Linked DNA regions of Homo sapiens: region 2 is linked to region 1. The links are contacts of gene promoters, found by promoter capture Hi-C in blood cells and fetal thymus (Javierre and others, 2016). All regions are on one chromosome and are shown on one strand. The core of a region is centred on a gene start or on the middle of the fragment in contact, and the rest is flanking DNA. Distances in the headings are between cores, read along the strand shown.

Evidence for each region. The method cuts DNA at HindIII sites, captures the fragments that hold promoters and counts their contacts. A CHiCAGO score of 5 or more calls a contact.
Region 2: a fragment that was not itself captured here is called in contact with the fragment with the promoter of UBASH3B in region 1 in 1 of 17 cell types (fetal thymus); the score reaches 5.4 in fetal thymus.

What each region holds. Positions count from the first base shown.
Region 1 is chr11:122,653,504-122,657,304 of GRCh38, reverse strand. UBASH3B (ubiquitin associated and SH3 domain containing B) reads right to left here and starts at 1,583. Exons shown (of 14, transcript NM_032873.5): 1 at 1,095-1,583. The coding sequence starts at 1,255. RefSeq lists a silencer at 924-973 and an enhancer at 1,177-1,678. The HindIII fragment of the contact is 6,403 bases long and covers 1-3,801 here.
Region 2 is chr11:123,024,760-123,028,560 of GRCh38, reverse strand. No RefSeq gene overlaps it. Among named protein-coding and RNA genes, the nearest start is that of SNORD14E, 31 kb to the left of the region's middle. The HindIII fragment of the contact is 1,709 bases long and covers 980-2,688 here.

The sequences.
Region 1 (3,801 bases), core at 334-2,833:
ATACATAAATAAAGTTATCACCTGAAAAAAAAATGTGAGAAGGGAAAAAAATAAAAAGGACTTTCATTTACTTGGCCCTCACTGATTAAGTTTGGCCAACTCTCCTGTTCAGGTGCTGTAATTCAAAGATGAAAAGAAGCTGCGCCCAGTCCGGACGCCAGGCCTTGTGTCCCCACCTAAGAAATCTGCACGGCAGGGATTAACCAGGGGAGAAGGGCCTGGCCGCTGGGCCTTGGCTTCCTCTTAGGCAGAGTTCCAGCCCCTGAGACTTGAGCCGACCGGCCTGAGACGACTCCGGCCGCCGCCACCCTATGCTGGCAAACAGGCCTCTCCCCAGCAGGCTCCAGGGGCAGCCACCTGCGCTCTCCCTGCCCTCCCCTACCCCACTCTCCTAGAGGAAGGATGAAGAACAGCTCCCCCTCCTTACTCTCAGGCACCCACAGATTTCTGAGCTGCCGTCACCACTGACGAGAACCCAGGTCCCCTGGAGGGATCGCTTCTCCTTCTGATTCCATCCTCCCCATCAATGAACACGCAGGAACACCCACGCTCCCGCTCCTCCTACTCCAGGGGGAGACCGAACCCGAGAGCGACATCCGGAGCTGGAAGCCGCTGCAACGGGGGCGCCGGCCTCCCTGCCCCGCAGTCTCCCGCCCTTTCCCAGACACCGGAGGATCCCAGACCAGCCCAGTATTCCAGACGGAGAGGGTGCCCGAGTCCTCCGCAGGGCCCCGCCTCCCTAGGCGCTCGGCGCTGGAGACCTAGGGGAGCGCGCGAGAGAAACGCTGAGCTCCACCCGGCTGGGGCGGAGGCTGAGCACTATACCCGGGACTCGAACCCCGCGCCCTCGTCCCCCAGCTTTAGGCATCCCACGGCGAGCCCTGGCCCAACGCCCCCGCGCCGCGTCTTCCCCCGCACCCCCGCCCGGAGCCGAGTCCCGGGTTGCCAGCGCGCCCATCCCGCCCCCAACAGGTCTCGGGCAGCGGGGAGCGCGCTGCCTGTCCCGCAGGCGCTGGGAGGCGAGCCGGAGCGAAGCCGAGGGCCGGCCGCGCGCGCGGGAGGGGTCGCCGAGGGCTGCGAGCCCGGCCACTTACGCGCGGGCTCTGGGGAACCCCATGGAGAGGAGCACGTCCAGCGCCGATCCATGCTTGATGGTGCCGGGGCGCTGTTGGCGGTTCCTCCGGGGGGTGACTTTGCTGTACAGCTCCTCTCTCGCAGCCATGCCGAGCGGACTGGGGTGGCCGTACTGAGCCATGGCTCAGCGGCCAGCCATCGCCAGGGAAGGAGCCCGAGCCGGATGGTTCGGGAAGGAGGAGGGAGTCGGGCTGGGCCAGGGGAGGGGGCTCGGGGACCCAGAGCCAGGCAGGAGGCGGCGGCAGCGGAGGCGGCGCTCCGAGCTTCCCCAGTGTCGGGACTCTGACGCTTCCTGGTGAGGCCACAGGAGCCAGAACGCCGGCAAGCGGCCGCTGCGGGACCAGCCTCAGCCACTCGGGCCCCCGGCTGCCCCCAGCTCTGCGCCTGCAGTAGCCCTGTCTCCTCCGCCCCCTTCCCTCTCCTCGCCTAGCAGTCCGGGAATTTGCAATGAGTAATTTTTGAATGGATCAAAAAGGAAAAGGAGCCTTGTGGGCTGGCCCTGACTTGCCTGTACCCGGGCCCCGCCCCTCTCTTAAAGCGGCCGCGCTGTCCGAGGCTGCTCCGTGCGGGCAAGAGCTGTAGTCGCGCTACTTGGAGACGGAGGATCCCAACCTTATGGGCTGCTTGTGTGCTTCACCTCCCGAGAGTCACCCCCGGCGCCCCAGCCCTCTCCTTGGCTGGCATACCCGCCCAGCTGGGCCTCAAGACAGGAGATCAACCCATCTCAAGTTTCATGTGATTCTAGATGCGGTTATTAATGGAAATTGGGTGAACTGGTGGATGATACTAATGGACCAGAAGGCCAAGCCGTAAGGCCTAGGTAAAAGGTTTTGCTTCTCAAAGATCCTGCAAAACCCAAAGGGTTGTTAGGACCATCGGAAGTTGAGTTCCCAATCAGCCGGCCAAGTGGCTGCACTAAAGACCTACTGCGCTCTACAAGGTTATGGTCAGTGACTGAATAGTGCCTTCCCGGTGGGGCAGAGGGGTTGGGGAGAAGGACCTCAGGTTCTCAGAGGTGGCAGGACCTGGGAGGGGACAAGAAAAGAGGGACAGGGCAGAAAGAAGAGGGAAGGGAAAAAGAAAGGAGGAAGGAGGAGGAGAAGAAGGAAGGGCTAGGAGGGTAGAGGAAGAAGGAACAGAGAAAACATACTTCCTAATTATAAGAGGTGTTCAAAAGGGAACGGGCTTATTTCATTAGGGAGTGGATATCCTGTCAATAAAAGGATTCAAAGACGGACCGAATCACCACTGCACAATAATAAGTGAATTGTATCATAGGCTGGACAAAACTACTCCCACTGCAAAGATGGTGGAAGCCACAACCATATTGATGCCCCATGCCCCACCTGGTGAATTTGGCTGGGGGATGCTAACCCTCTTTCGTTTGGAAACAAAGTCATTGTCTTCAGTCAGGGACAAGGGTCCCACTTGCTATAATGAAAGAGGCAATGAGTACACCCTAACTGATAGTCTTTTTTGGGTAATAATAATAATAAAACCTAACATTTATTGGGCTCTTGTATGTGCCAGTCATTGTGCTAATCGTAATGAATGAACTCACTGAAGTTTTATACTGACCCTAGGAGTGTGTTTAATCATTATCCCAGTTTTACAGATGAGAAAACTCAGCTCAGAGAGGTTGGGGAAGATCATAGAGCTGGTAAGTGCGTAGCTACAGCACTCGTATCCACTGCGGTGCCTTAGACAAGTTACTTCTCTCTACAGCCTAATTTCCTCATTGGTATGGACCGTGGTAACCTAACCTTGCACACACTGGGTTTTCCAGAAATGTCAGTCCGGGCCTGTCCCTGGTTGGAATATGGGGGAGGGATGGTGACCAGCACCCATGGAGTGGCTTTTTGAGGTTGCTTTATAAGGCCTGTGAAGGTTTTACCAGGGGAAATGATACAGTGTAACTCCCTGAGCCCGGAATTGGTTTCCTAAAGAATAGCCAGTGGTGTTTGGAAGCAGGGAGATAAGACAGCTGGAGCTTAAGCAACAATGTGTATTAATTCTGCCTCCTGCTGTACAAAGGATGAGGGAAAATTAATGCTTCCTGGGTAGTAGCTGCTTCCAGAGCAAAGGGGATATCCTGGAGACCTTGCAGAATGCTCTTCCAGGACATGGAGCAAAAAGACAAGACTGGGCTGGCAACACCATACCTAGTATTAGCCTCCTTGGATGTGTTCGGTAAAACATGCTGGATTTTATCCAGTATTCTGAATTGTTTCCAAATGCCTGGGCTGAAAGTCAAATGATCTGGATCTTAGTCAAGAGATAATAATGTATGTGAAAGCGCTTTGTAAACCATAAAGCGCTACATAAATGATAACTCAAATTTATTGAGTACTTACTATATGCTGGTGTTGTTCTTTGCTTCTTACATATGTGACTCAAACAATTCCTTGACAAGACTATGAACTAGGAACTACTTTACAAATGAAGGTGCTGAGCCAGAGGTCAAGTATCTTGTCCAAGGTCACATGGCTAGTAAATGGCAGAGCCAAGATTTGAACTCTTAACATTTGGCCAAACAACTAGTTAACGACCATTGTTATGATGATAAAAGGACACCAGCCTTTAAGATAGTTTTTTGACTCCATCTATGCCCCTTGACATAGAATTGCTGGATCTCTGTTTCTCCAGAAAAATTGAATTAATTGTCTT
Region 2 (3,801 bases), core at 585-3,084, 370 kb before region 1:
CACACAAAAATGCATACATGAATGTTCATAGCAGTGTTCTTCATAATAGCCAAAAAGTATCAACGCTCCAAATGTCCAACTATTGAATGGATAAATAAAATGTGGCATATCCATATAACGGTATATTAGTCAGCCATAAAGTAATGAAGTACTGATACATGTTGCAACATAGAAGAACCTTGAAAACATTATGCCAAGTGAAAGAAGCCAGTCACAAAAGACCATATTGTATGATTCTATTTCTATGAAATGTCTATAGGCAAATCTATAGAAATAGAAAGCAGACAGGTGGTTGCCTAGGGCTTGGGGGAGGGAGTTTGGGGAGAAATATGGAGTGACTACTAATGGATATGGGATTTTGCCTGGTTGACAGAAATGTTCTAAAATCTATTTTGGCAATGGATGCTCAGCTGTGGATATACTAAACGCTATTCAACTGTACATTTTAAAGGGGTGAATTGTATGGTACGTGCCTAACATCTCAATAAAGCTGTTGAAAAATTCTCTTCTCATAGTGCTCATATCTTAGTGGAAAGCAAAAGGATTCAACCTTCTAAGGATCTTTCCAATCTGTCCACTTCTCTTTGTCCAGCACGTTACCATCTCCTCTTTGGATCACCACAAAAGCCTCCCGCCTCTTCTGGCTCCAGTGTGGCCTGCTGTGAATCTCCTCTATAAATCTCCACTTTGCTGCCTTAGAAATCTTTCTGAAGGGCCATTGAGATGCTCCTCCTGCCTCCATCTCACCACGGCTTCCACAGCCTTAAAGGTGAAGTCCAGGCTCTTTCACTCCACTGAAAAGGCCCTGTATGATCTGGTCCCTACTAATCTCTGACTTCATTTCTCACCACTCATCACTTGGGCCACGAACTCTTTCAGTTTTGCAAATCTCTTTGCCCTGTCTCAATTCCAGGCTTTTGCAAAGCCTGATTGTTCTGCCTTTTGGGTCTCAGCTCACATGCCACTTGTTCTGGAAGCTTTTTTCTTAAATACTCCCCGTCTTCACACAGTAGAGCCCTGCCCCCGCAACAGGTGTGTGCCCATTCATTTCCTAGACTTACTGCGTGCCAGGCACCTTTTTTTGTTTGAGACAGGGTCTCGCTCTGCCACCCAGGCTGGAGTGCAGTGATGTTATCGTGGCTCACTGCAGCCTTGACTTCTCAGGCTCAATTGGTCCCCCAGCCTTAGCCTCCCAGGTAGCTGGGACTATAGTGCATGCCACCATGCTCAGCTAATTTTTTTTTTTTTATTTTACTGTAGAGACATGGTTTTACCATGTTGTCCACGCTGGTCTCAAACTCCTGAGCTCAAGCGATTCACCAGGCACCATTCTAAGTGCAACGTTATAAAATTAACTCCTTTAATTTTCACAACAACCATATGATGTAGATACTATTATTATTCTTATTGTACAGATGAGAAAATTGAGGCATAGAGAGGTTAAGTAACTTTCCCAAAGTCACACAGCTGGTGATGGAGCACGGATTTGAACCCAGACAATATGGCTCTAGAATTTGTGCTAACTGCCATGTTCTGTGGCCTGAAATTGCTTAACACATCTTGGCACTTATTATACACTGTAATTGACTCTTTAATTATATCTCCATGTGACTTTTAGTTTATGGGAGGTAGGAATTATGTCTGGCTTTTTCATTATTGTGTTCCCAGCATGAGGCCTAGCCCATAGTTTTTTAATTAAAAAGAAGAATGAACAAACTAATTAATTAATTAAGATAGAGATATGTGAGATGTACAAGAAGAAAGTTATTGGATTTCTAGCTCATAGAAGGACAATGTTCTGATTAATTGATATTATGTTAAAAGTTCTCTAACGTACAGGATACATATTTCTTGAGAAATTATATTCTGGTTAAAGTGCCTTATACACAGTGGATGGTTCATAATTCTTGCTTAGTTTTTTACAACTTTTTATTGTAAATTATGTAAGATTTACAAAAATAGTACAAAGAATTTCTATATCCTCTTTACCTAACTTCTCCAAATGTTAACATATGATATAATAACAGTACAAAGATAAAATTGGGAAGTTAACATTACTACTTAATTCATTGCTATCTCATTTAATTCTCATTATCTGTTTCAATACTGTCCTTTTGTTTTTTGAGACAGAGTCTTGCTCTGTCGCCCAGGCTGGAGTGCAATGGCACGGTCTCGGCTCACTGCAACCTCCGCCTCCTGGGTTCAAGCAATTCTCCTGCCTCAGCCTCCGGAGTAGCTGGAATTACAGGGGCCCGCCACCATGCCTGGCTAATTTTTGTATTTTTAGTAGAGATGGGGTTTCACCGTGTTGCCACACTGGTCTTGAACTGCTGAATCTTGTGATCCGCCCACCTCGGCCTCCCAAAGTGCTGGGATTACAGGCGTGAGCCACTGCATCTGGACTCAATACTGTCCTTTTTATGATCCATGATCCAAACCAGGATTACACATTGCCTTTATTTATTAGCCTGTTTTAAGCTGGGACGATGTCTCAGTTTTTCTTTATCTTTTCCAACCTTGACACCTTTGAAGAGCAGCTGTCAGTTATTTTGTGGAACATCCCTCCATTTGGGTATGTCTGCATTCCTTGCAGACATTAAATTCAGGTTATGCATTTTTGGTAAGGATACCACATAAGGGATGCCATGTCCTTCTCAGTGCATCATATCAGGAAGCACACAATAAGCTTTAATCTTGGTTAAGGCTATATATGCCACATTTCTACATTGTGAAGTTATGACATTTCTCACTGTAATTAATAGGCATCTCATGGAAAAATACTTAGAGACTAAATAAATATCATGTTTCTGGTAATAATTTCATCCATGAATTTTAGCATCCACTGATACGTTCTTGAAAAACAATTTTTACTGTGATCTTTGCCATTGGTGACTTGCTATTTGCATCACTCCTTCTGCATTTATTAATTGGAGTATTACAGTAAGAAAGAACTTTCCTTTCTTCCTCATTTATTTGTTTATTCAATTTTTTATTTAAATAAGTATGGGCTCATGAATATTGCTTTTAATCTGTGAGTGAACATTATTATCTTTTAAACATTTTTGTTGTTCAGATTGTCCCAGATCTAGGAGTCTTACCAAGTTGGCTTGTGTCATTTCAACATGTGTCCATCATTTTTTGAGCACTTCCTTAGTTACTAGCTCCACAAGATGTCCTAAGTTCATTCTGTTCTTCCCTGCCCCAGCCGTATAATCAGCTATCTGTTTAAGTAGACCGGGTTCCTTTTTACTGGAGAATAATATTTAGAAAGAAAGATCTGCAGTGAAATCCCGTCTCTACTAAACACACACACACACACACACACACACACACACACACACACACACACACATTAGCCGGGCGTGGTGGTGGGTGCCTGTAGTCCCAGCTACTGGAGAGGCTGAGGCAGGAGAATGTCGTGAACCCGGGAGGCGGAGCTTGCAGTGAGCCGAGATCACGCCACTGCACTCCAGCCTGGGCGACAGAGCAAGACTCAGGCTCAAAAAAAAAAAAAAAAAAAAGATCTGGGCACTAGATGCTTACTGCTACTGGGGTGTCATTGTTTCCTCCCTCAGTGATCAGGGCTAGGAAATATACGTATGTGTACACTTAAACATGTCTTTACTTATTTCCCTGTCTCTCTATTAAAAACTATGACTTTGCCGGGTGCAGTGGCTCACGCCTTTAATCCCAGCACTTTGGGAGTCCGCGGTGGGCGGATCACGATGACAGCAGTTTGAGATCAGCCTGGCCAGCATAGTGAAACCCTGTCTCTACTAAAAATACAAAAATTAGCCGGGC